Linked DNA regions of Homo sapiens: region 1 is linked to region 2. Evidence: promoter capture Hi-C in 16 types of primary human blood cells and fetal thymus (Javierre and others, 2016). All regions are on one chromosome and are shown on one strand. Each heading gives the region's core, a stretch centred on a gene start or on the middle of the fragment in contact. The rest is flanking DNA. Distances are from core to core; before and after follow the strand shown.

Region 1 (5,915 bases), core at 3,249-5,748, 1.1 Mb before region 2:
TCTAGATAAGTGTAATGTTAATTTCCATTTTAACTCTCCTTAAAACCTACAGAGACTCTACCTCAATCTGTGTATGGTTATGATTTATATAGAAAGGAGTTTGCAGTTTAAGAAAATATTTTACATGAAAATCTGAAAGTGATAAATGAGAAACTCACTACTTTGTTTAAAAAGGATTCACCTTAGAAGGAAGTGAGACACAAAAAGTACATACTGTATCATCCCATATGTATGAGGGCCAAGAAAAGGCAAAGTTAACCTCTAGTGATGGAAAACAATGAGTGATTTCCTAGGTCCAGGGCAATGGTGGGATCGCACAAAGGGGCATGAAGAAACATTTTGGGCTGATGGAAATGTTTTCTCTCTAGATGGGTGTGGTGGTTTCATGGGTATGTGCTCTGTCAAAACTCATCAAATTGTACACTTTAAATGTCTGGTTTATTATACATAAATGCTATGTCAGAAAAAGTTGTTTATAAAAGGACTAGCCTTAGGAGTCACTAAAATGAGACATTATGAGTATTATTTATTGAGCCTTAAAGTAAGATTTAAATATGATTAATTCCACAAGTGAAAAGGTAAGTCTACCTGTAAGTTTCTTCAAGGTGAGATGTGGGTGAAATATGATCATGAGAAAGCTTTTCAACAGGGGAAGAAGAAGTGATATCAGTGCATTTTAGTAATATTAGCATTCATATAAGATTGGTATCGCTTTATTAATGTGGAATGTACAGGCAGTAAAACAGGTTATTTAATTAGTTGAAATTATCTAAAATAGATCTTAAGAGTTCACTTAGAACACTTTTCTGGACTGCCTTTCAAAGTAGATAACATCAGACACAGTGATAACATAATAACTCATTCAAAACTAAATTGTACATCACCTATGATATCAACATTTTGTATTCACTGAAGGAAATTATATTTGAAAGTGTTTGCCTGTACATTATTTGACAAAGTTGTGGGGATTTTTTGTTTTTTGTTTGTTTGTTTTCTGTTTTTGTTTTTGTTTTTCAGATGGAATCTCACTCTGTCACCCAGGTTGGAGTGCAGTGGCACAATCTCGGCTCACTGCAACCTCCACCTCCTGGGTTCAAGCGATTCTCCTGCCTCAGCCTCCCAAGTAGCTGGGATTACAGGCATGCACTACCACGCCCAGCTAATTTTTGTATTTTTAGTAGAGAAGGGGTTTCGCCATGTTGGCCAGGCTGGTCTCGAACTCCTGACCTCAGGTGATCCACCTGCCTCGGCCTCCCAAAGTGCTAGGGTTACAGGCAAGAAATTGTGTTATTTTTTAAATTTGCCATGCTCAGATATTGGATACCAGGGTGATTTCTTGGGAAATCTAATATGAGGAATGAAGCATTAATTATAAGACCTGATTTTAAATGCTACGTACCAATTAATGTATACCCTTTACATATTCTCCTCTATTGTATTTGGAGAAAATTTTCCAATCTATGAGATAATGCTGATGAATTATTTTCTTAGTGGTCAATATAAAAATGAATGAGGAACTATTCCTAGAAATAATATTGAATCTAATTAATGCCACCTTGTCATATGTGCATGTGGAACATAAGAGTAGCTAAAAAGAGGCCGGGCGCAGTGGCTCATGCCTGTAATCCCAGCATTTTGGGAGGCCAAGGTGGGCGGATCATGAGGTCAGGAGATGGAGACCATCCTGGCTAACAACGTGAAACCCCATCTCTACTAAAAATACAAAAAATTAGCCGGGCGTGGTGGCACGTGCCTGTAGTCCCAGCTACTCAGGAGGCTCAGGCAGGAGAATCGCTTGAACCCAGGGAGCGGAGGTTGCAGTGAGCCGAGATCGCACCACTACGATCACAGCCTGCGCGACGGAGCAAGACTCTGTCTAAAATAAAAAAAAAGAGTAGTTAAAAAGAGAGAAATAATATTTTCTGAAATAACAACACAGGTACTGTTGCAAAACTCAACTAAGTTAGAAATCACTTGCCCTGTCATTTGTTATGCTTACGTGTTAGTAAAATTGTTAGTATTCTATATTGGTAATACAGGAACCCTTGCTGATTTAGCTGTTATCTTGGCGTGTTTATTCTGGATTCATAGTAGGAATGAGCACCTTGTTAGAAGAAGGTTGGTCAAAATGGAAGGAGGAGGTGGAGGTTGGTTAGGTTATTTGAATTCCAAATGGCAGTAATGGGTTCCTTAATGATTAATGCTGTACTTAGGCCACCAGCCTATGCCTTAACCACTCCCTTTTCATCTTCACTTAAGGGCTCAACTACAACCCCAGGCTCTGACTCTGGCTCTGGCTCTGGCTCTGGCTCCAATTCCGACTGCGTTTCTGGCTCCAGCTCCAGCTCGATGTCAAGGTCAGGCACTGCCATAGGCTCTGATCCTGGGGCAGGCTCTGGGGCAGGCTCCTGAGTAGGCTTTGGCTCATAGTCTGGTTCTTGGATGGTATCAGGGCCAGTCTCATGAATGGAAGATGGTAGAGTTACTTCTAGTTGGGTAGCGTCTTCTCTTGGCATTGCTTCGCTTTCTCCCCTTGGGTTTATCTTTGTCATTGGCCTGCAAGAAAGAAGGCCCAGAAAAGAACAAGTTAGGGAGATGCTAACTTTGAAATTTCATGTGAAACCATATGTTCTGTAGCTTCAATGACCATAGGTCCCAGACTTCAGGAAATCTGTTATTTCTGATATTCTGACTCATTGTCAGGCCATAGGTCATTTTGGATTCAGAAAGGTTAGGTCTCAACAATATCATGAAAGTTTAAGAAAGAGCAGTGTTTCAAGGTGGGAAAATAATGTCAGAATGAAAGAGTCTAAGAATCTAATAAGGTCTTTAAGGTCCAAATTCATAGCTCTGATGTATCGCTATTTCTCACTCCATCTAGTACAATACTTGGCACCTGGTTGATACCCAATAGATAGTTGTAGAAGCAAGGAGATGAAAAAAAATGAATGAGTGAGATACACACTAGGAAAGAAATAGAGTGATTAAGAGCATGAGCTGTGGGCTGGGCCACATTCTAACTTCTGTGTTCCCTGGGCACTGTCCTTGTGGGTCTCTTGTTCCATAAAAAAATTTAAAATTATATTTCATGACTATGTTGGTATTAAGACAAGTATGTTAGTATTATATATGAAAATGTTTTCTTGGACCTAAAACTGTTGTGATAGCTAAATGAGTTGATGTACATAAAGTGCTTAGAACAGAGCCTGGCACACAGCACTCAATAAATAGCAGCCATCATCATTCTTTTTTAAATTCAATGAGAGTAAACAGAAAGATACCTCTGATATCTTATACTAAAAGGAGTGCTTAGGAATTGATGACTGAAAAAGACATGCCTGAGAAATGTTTGTATTCAAGTAAAGACAACAAAATGAAGGCTTACTCAAGTTCCGCGATGGTCTTAGAATTTCTTTCTTTTGCCTTTGCTTTTGCCTTATTCCTTGCGAAGCACACAACAGAGATGATGATGGCGGCACCTACCAGGCTACCAATCAAGGCCCCAACAATGATTCCAACTTCTGGATCTGAAGGATACAAGCAGCTGGTTAATAAAGTGGAATATATTGTCATTTTATAATGTGTGTTTGTGACTAGTGGGGAATATCAGGGCCATTCACATAGTGGGAAAATGACTTGTATAGGCTAGGGAAATGGAAACCCCTAGAACTCTGTCATTTGGACTCACAGTGGGAGAAGACTATTGACATTTGTGCACATAAAGAATAAAATGTGGCCAACTTGGAGGAGGTGGGGTTGCTTTTGAAATGGGATTTAGAGAAAAGAGTCTTGAGACACCATGGAGTTGTGATCTGGTCACTAGAGATAAGCCTCTGTTACAGGCAGGAACATTTCACTAGGCTTTCCCAGAGCACAGGTGAAATTGGTCCCTAAAAACCTCCCCCATGGCGTCAATGCTTACGAAGGAACCTCATGCACTCTGGTCACTGGGAAGTGATATGCCCATTTTGATAAACAGGCATCTGGTTTATTGTCTCGGTCTATGGACAAACTTAATGAGTGGGACATTATCCAGCTGAGCACCAGACCTTCAAGCCCTGAGGTGTTGTCTCTGGAAGACCACATCTGGGTTATAAGCCAACCCAACCCCATCTGCCTCCCCTCACACAAGGATGGACACCTTATATTTTGAGCTGCCTGATAATAATTCCTTTAACTTTTTATGATTAAGAGAATATAAGTAAATAGTTTAAAAAGTCAAATAGTTCTACTACATGTCTCACAAAAACAGCAGTTCCCTGCCCGACTCCTTCCCGTTTCTGAGTCCCATTCACGAAAGGCAACCACTCTTAACTCTTTTTAAAAGTCTTCTTGCCCCCATGTTTTTATTATGTTTGCTCTGATATGTCCTACCTTTTTTCCATTCCATCATTTTCTTTCAACTTCGTACCCTAGAAGTTGGAGATTGAGCTCTTTTACACCACTCCCCTCACACCCACCATGTTCTTCCAAAATAGTTATATCACAAGTTTTAGTTAAATCCAAGTTTGCAGTAGTATGGCTATATAAATATTGTTCACAGCTGAGGAACACAGTATACTATGATTCTTTCTTGTACAACATTTACAAAAATTTTCCCGGAGGTTAATAATTGCTTCATTTGGGGATTAATAAATGCATTATCACTCATCCCGAAATTTCCAACAAAACCATTAAACTTCTTTCAATTGATTCAAACATATCAGATGATATATCAGTTTCTTGTGATTTTTCCCTCAGAGACATGCCATGTGAAGCCCTCCATTCTCTTCCCCCATCATGACCTGGTTGCTCTCCTAAGCCTGCTGCTCTACCGTCATGCTTCAGCTTTCCCATTTTATAGATGATGAGGCTTTGCAAGTTCCTTCAAGATCCTGCTCAAATAGCACTTTGTTGGTAAAGCCATCCCAGTTCTATAAGCATAATTTTCCTCCCTTGGTGCTCTATAGACCCTGTTCAGACTTCTATTATAGGATTTAGCATGTTTTAGTTGTGTTTGTCCCTCTAGCTGAACTGTGAGCTCCTTGAGTATAGGACATACATCTTCTTTATCTCTGTATCTTTATCACCTAGGACAGTCCCTGGAACACAGTAGATATTCAATAAATATTTGAGGAAGGAAGGAAGAAAGAAGGGATGTGGGAGGGAGAGAGGAAGGCAGTGCTGGACATCATTGGAAAAAAGACTAGAAAGGAAGCAATGCTCAAGTCCAAATCCTACATATCTCTACATCTGCAGTATGATTGTACCTCTGAGAAGGCAAAAAGATATTGAGGGAATTCTAAAGAAAGATAACAGAAATGATGCAGGAAATATAGCTGAAAGTGATATGAGAATAAAGGAGCAAACTTCAGGAGAAATAAAAGGAAGAAAGTTCAGGTGCATAGGAAGAGCAAAAACCCACTGGAACTTGCCATCCCTGGATATGGCATATATTAAAATCACAAATTCAAAGTAAGTTTGAAAAAAGATCCTAAGTGTTATTAAGTGATCCTTGAGATGTTTGGTGAGATATTCCTTGTGAGGAGTTGCCCCTGGGTCAGCTCAATTGGACAATTCCAGGAGTCTTAAATCTTACACTCAGAGAGTGAGTAAGCACCTTCGAATAGGAAAATTGAGGTTTAGAGGCATCCTGGCTCTGCCAGTTACTAACTGGATGACCTTGGGCAAGTCATTTACTTCCCTGAGCTTCAGTGTTCTTTTCAGCAAAATGAGGCCGACAATAGTCTGCCTCCCTAGATAGGGGTGGTTGGGAGGAAAGAGTGAGATAATACTCAGCATAATTCATGCTCCACAAATAGTAGCTACCGTGATTGTGGGTACGAGTGTTATTATTATAATACTATTATTATTAGTGGCAGATCTTTGCAAGGTATATGTTTGTCAGAGCTACAGTGTCACCTGGATTTACCAAC
Region 2 (5,285 bases), core at 891-3,390:
GGAGGATTGCTTGGTCCCAGGAGGTCAAGGCTGCAGTGAGCCAAGATCGTACCACTGCACTAAAGCCTGGGTGACACAGCAAGGCCCTGTCTCAAAAAAAAAAAAAAAAAAAAAAAAGTCTGGGTATTAGAAGACAACAAAGAATTAGTATAAATTTTGTTTGGTATAAAAGTGGCATGGTGGTTATGTTTGTTAGAAAATGTCCATGTTTCTAAAGAACACTGAAGTATGTAAAATAAAATGGCATGATGTTTGAGATTTGCCCTGAAATGCTCACAGCTTACAGAAATGGAAAAAAAAAAAAAAGAAAAGAAAAAGAAAAAGAAGAAAAGGGATATAGAAAACAAGTGCCTTAGTCAGATCTGGCTGCTGTTAACAAAGTACCATAGACTAGGTTGCGTATTAACAGCAGATGATCAGGTTCTGGTACGGTCTCTCTTCTGGGTTGCAGAATTCAGACCCTTTCTTGAGTCCTCATGGAAGAAAGAGGATGAGAGAGCTTTCTGGGGTCCTTTTTATGAGGCACTAATCCCATCATGAGGGTTCCACCCTTATGACCTAATTACTTGGCAAAGGCCCCAACTCCTAATCCCAATACCTAATACCATCATATTGGGAGTTAGGATTTCAACATACAAATTTTGGCGGGGCACAAATGTTCAGTCCATTGCAGCAGGTGTGGCAGTCTTGATAATTACTGCATCTGAGTAATAAGTACATGGGATTCATTATATTGTTTTCTGTACTTTTGTGTATTTTAAAAAATTGAAGAAAAGATAACTAAAAAACAGACAAATGTAAAGCACCCAATGGGGGTAAAAAATGATGCTCAAAGGACATAAACAGGCATTTGTAGAAGAGGAGATGCAAATGTATACTAAACATTTGAAAAGATATTCAGCCTTACTGGTAGTCAGGAAAATGCAAATTAAAACAATAAGGAGATACTATTTTTTATTGAAAAGACTATCAAAAAGTTAAAAGATTGGGACCATCTAGTGCTATGAACATGACAAAAGAGCACTGATTGTTGCTGGGAGGGCAAATTGCCTATCTTACAGTATTTATTAAGATTAAACCATGCACATGCTATTAGATGCAGCAGTCTCATCTTTTGGAATTCATTCTGTGGAGATAACAGTATCAGAAATTAATGACCTGTACACGAGTGTGTGAAGGAGCATTTTTTGTATTGTCAAAATTAAAAAAAGAGGACAACCTAAATTACCATAAAGGAATGGTCAAATAAATTATAGTTCATTCATGCCATAGAACATTACATATGTTTTTAATGAATCTGTTTTTCTATTATCAGTGTATATTTATAGTATATTAGAAAACACAGGTAAGAAAAAAGGAAAAAGTGTCTAGTTCCAGACCCAGAGATATCATCTTGGTGTATATCAAGTGGTTTTCGTTGTGTGTGTGTGTGTGTATATATATATGTATGTATGTATGTGTATATGTGTGTATGCATGCATATATATATATGTATATATGTATACATATATATTTGTTTTTCCAATAGAAAAGGCATCATGCGTTCCACAATATGTTGTAACTCCTTGTTTTCTTCATTCCTTCATGAATATTTTTCTACATCAACACATACTTATCTACAAACATGGCCTTCAAGAACTGGATGGTATTTCATTTTATGCATACTTCATAACTCGACCAATCCCCTACTTGGCGGTATTTAAGTGAATCCAATTTCTCCTTTTAGAAACACCGTCCCTGCATGCTAGCAAGACTTTGGAGATAGTTTGCTAATTGCCTTCCAGAAAGTTCTGGGTGCTTCTGGAGGCATTTGAGGCAGAGTAGGTAGAATGTTTTCCCATCAGGCGAGCTTGCTATCTTCCCAGATAGCAACACTGTAGTCTTTAGAACTTGAAAGACTTGTCTTATCTTGCCTGTTAGTCATGCAGCCTAAGCGGGACTAGGTTCCAGAAATCCCATACATGCTCTCCCTCCTCTTGCTTCATTCACGCCCCTCCCCACGCGCCACCCCCGCCCCCCGCGCTTTCCCGCTCGGCGGCCTGGCCTATGGCATACGCCAATAATTAATTAGGGGCGGGGATCAAGGAGCGGCTGTCAGGAGGTCGCCATATTTCTGTACGGCCCAGAGGCAGCCCGGGCAGTCGCCGGGTCGGTAGAGGTGCTGACAGGGCGGAGCCGCCGCTTGCCTCAGCCGGCCTCACCCCTCCCGCCCGGGACAGGTGGCTGGAGCGCGCTCCGCCTCCGCCAGCTGCGAGTGGGAGCGAGGGAGGGCCGGTCCCGGACGGTCGCCGCCAGCTGCGAGTGGAAGTGAGCGAGGGCTAGTCCCGGACCGCCGGGCCAGGGGTCCGGCGGCAGCAGACGGGTACCGTGGCGGCCAAAAAAATGCTCCTGTACCGAGGGGCCCCCGCCGGCCCTGGCGCGCCGGGCTGCGGGCTGGCCCGGCCCGGCGGCGGCCCGCAGGCCTTCGGGATCCGCCTGAGCACGGTAGGTCCGGGGCCCGAGGGGGCGGACGCGCGCGCGGGCCCCTGGGCTGCGGGGGGCGCGCGGGGAGGGCCCGGCGGGCCGAGGCCTCACGCGGGTCGGGACCTTCTCTCGCCCCCAGATGAGCCCCCGCTACCTCCAGAGCAACTCCAGCAGCCACACGCGACCCTTCAGTGCCATCGCGGAGCTGCTAGGTGAGTGGCGAGGGCGGGCCCGGCCGTGTTCGCCCGAGGCAGTGGTGCCAGCGTGGTGCCGCGGACGCGAGAGGAATGCGCAGAGCCGCGCGGGGCGGGCCGGGGCTGGGGTGGGGGCCTCGGAACCGGCCCCGGCTCCGCAGGCGGAGGAGGGGGATGGCTCTCTCGCCAGGAACTAGGTTCCGCTCATAAAACGGAGGAAACGAGGTGTGTCTGAAGCGTTAAAGACACCAGTGTGGTTTTTCTCTCGCGCTCGTGACGTTCGGGCACTTTAGGATAGCTTAGTTAGTAATCAAAAGGAGATGCATAAAAACCTCGGGCCCTGAGGCAGCTGGGTCCGCAGGGGCTGGCGACCGACGGAGGATGCCTAGCTAGCAAAGGGGCGTAGAGGACCGAGGCGGGTCCTGGGGAAAGGTCTGGAAAGCGGAGTTCCTTAACTTTTGAGACAAGAAAAGTTAGGAATGATGGGACATCTCTTAAGAGATGACACGAGTGCATTTGGCTCCCTGCTACTGCGGAGGGCTGGGTCCGTGGTCCACGAGCGCCCTCACACCGCTGGAATGAATATTGAGGACTTAACCTCTCGCTCCACCGGTGTTTGCTTTTAAAGTGTTTTCAGTTGATCCCTTCAAGCCAATTACACCAGTTTTTGCAGTAGTGTGCTACTGTGTGGAAAGCAAAGAAGAAACGCAGTCCTGCACAAAACGCAGCAGCATACAGGGCGCATTATACATGCTTTGAAAATCGAAAGAAGGAAGAAGTGTTTATGGGCAAGGTTGCACAGAACAAACTCTTGAAAATGTTTTCAAAGCTCCCCAAATGAACCCCGGTCTCTACTTAAGCAGTCGCTGTGGCCATGCCATGAGAGTTATCTTGGGTAAGAAGTCAATGGGTAGCAGGGGACTTACTTGGAAGGGTGATAAGAATGATAGAGACCTTTGATGATTAACCATAACACGGAATGCTTTACAATATGTGTAATTTAATTAGAAGGTGAAAGGCAAAAAGTGGAATTGATACGTTTGGAACCCTAGAGCAGAGGGACTGTATCTTTGAGGTTTGGTACTGTGCCTTGGGGCTGTGCACTGAACCTCTGCAGAATGGAATACAATCCAAGTTAAGTATGTAATTTACAAGAAAGACTACAAGGGAGCAAAAAGTAGTGATTTACATAGTGGGGGATGGGAAAGCGAAATGTATTGTTCTCTCATGGTTGGCACGGTGCAGAACGTGATATACCTGTGCTGTGCTTACTGTACTTTCCAGGTGATTTAATGAGTTTCCAATTTGTAATTTTGGATATTTGTGATTTTGGCCATAAGCATTACCTTAAAGAACCTAAGCCGGATCTAAGACGTCCAGTATGAGCGCGAGTATGTGTATGTATTATGCACACACATGCATGCATACATGTATACAAACATAGATTTTAAGACCAAATAACAACTATTTGTGAAAATATTAATAATAGGGAAAAGAGAGAGCAAAGTGTTAACTGGCAATCCAAAGCTTTCATTTTAGGTTTTCCTTCAATCATTTTCTCCACTTAAGCATTAATTTTCTAGTGAATCATTCATTTGGTAAATATTTATTGAGCACCCACTGTGCGCAAGGCCACTGTGGTAGGCACAAAAATGAATACAACACAGATTCACTCTTCTAGTAGGGGAGATAAAACATGTACAGAAGGTTTATGCTTTGTCTAACAACAAAATGGAAATCGATATATAAACAAAGATAAAAACAAGTGCTGTGGGAGTTCAGAGGAAGGAGGAATGGCTTCCAGTTTATCAGGAAGAGGAAGGTTAGGAAAGGCTTTGTGGAGGAGGTGACATTTAAGCTGAGATTTGAAGGATTGGGACATGTGGATATGGGCGGGGAGGAATTCCAGGCAAAAGGAACAACTGCTTGAACAAAGGCATGAAGAATATTGAGTGGAGTTTAATTAGAGCATGGGGTTCACAAATAGTAAAAACGATAGGTACTTAAAAAGTTTACAAGCAGCTTTCACAAATAACTTTTTAACATTACCATTTGAGGTAAACATTTATTTTCATCCTGCAGATGAAGAAAAAGAGGTTCAGAAAATTTAGTTGACTTTTCCAAGGTTACATATATACTAAGTAGCAGATCCAGGACTCAAACACAGGCCTTTTTACGCCAGATACTAAGTAAGGATGAGGTTAAAAAGGTCATCTGGGATCAGGATGTGATTGGGAGGCTCCAATATCTGGCTTTTTAGCCTGAAGTTTTCTGAGCAGGGGAATGTCATGATCAGAGCTGTGCTTCAGGAAAGTCAGTCTTGCAGCAGTGTATACAATTGAAGGAGAGAGATACGGATTTATATGACAGGAGGTTATTGCAATAATCCAGATGAGAGGAAATAAACTCTGTAAGAGACTGACAATGGAAATAGAGTAAATAGGATATGAGAACGTCTAGGGATGCATAGGGTAAAGGAGAGGGAGGGATAAGAAAATTACTTAAATTTCAAATTTGTGGTCTATTCAATGCTAACCTTGTGTGTGTTTGTAACAAAGGAAGAATAGGCTTGTGACAAAAGGTGATGACCTTACCTTTAGGCAGGAATACTTTTAGATACCTCTAGGA

What was found. Contacts are between HindIII fragments. The CHiCAGO score rates a contact against its expected background, and 5 or more counts as called.
Region 1: a contact is called between a fragment that was not itself captured here and the fragment with the promoter of MORC4 in region 2, in 1 of 17 cell types (naive CD4 T cells). The highest score is 7.2, in naive CD4 T cells.

The regions. Positions count from the first base shown.
Region 1 is chrX:108,073,689-108,079,603 of GRCh38, reverse strand. It overlaps VSIG1 (V-set and immunoglobulin domain containing 1), which reads right to left. Exons shown (of 7, transcript NM_182607.5): 6 at 3,386-3,527; 7 at 420-2,556. The coding sequence ends at 2,223. Among named protein-coding and RNA genes, the nearest start is that of PSMD10, 15 kb to the left of the region's middle. The HindIII fragment of the contact is 7,715 bases long and covers 641-5,915 here.
Region 2 is chrX:106,997,067-107,002,351 of GRCh38, reverse strand. MORC4 (MORC family CW-type zinc finger 4) reads left to right here and starts at 2,140. Exons shown (of 17, transcript NM_024657.5): 1 at 2,140-2,484; 2 at 2,603-2,675. The coding sequence starts at 2,383. RefSeq lists silencers at 2,076-2,155, 2,166-2,375. The HindIII fragment of the contact is 4,977 bases long and covers 1-4,186 here.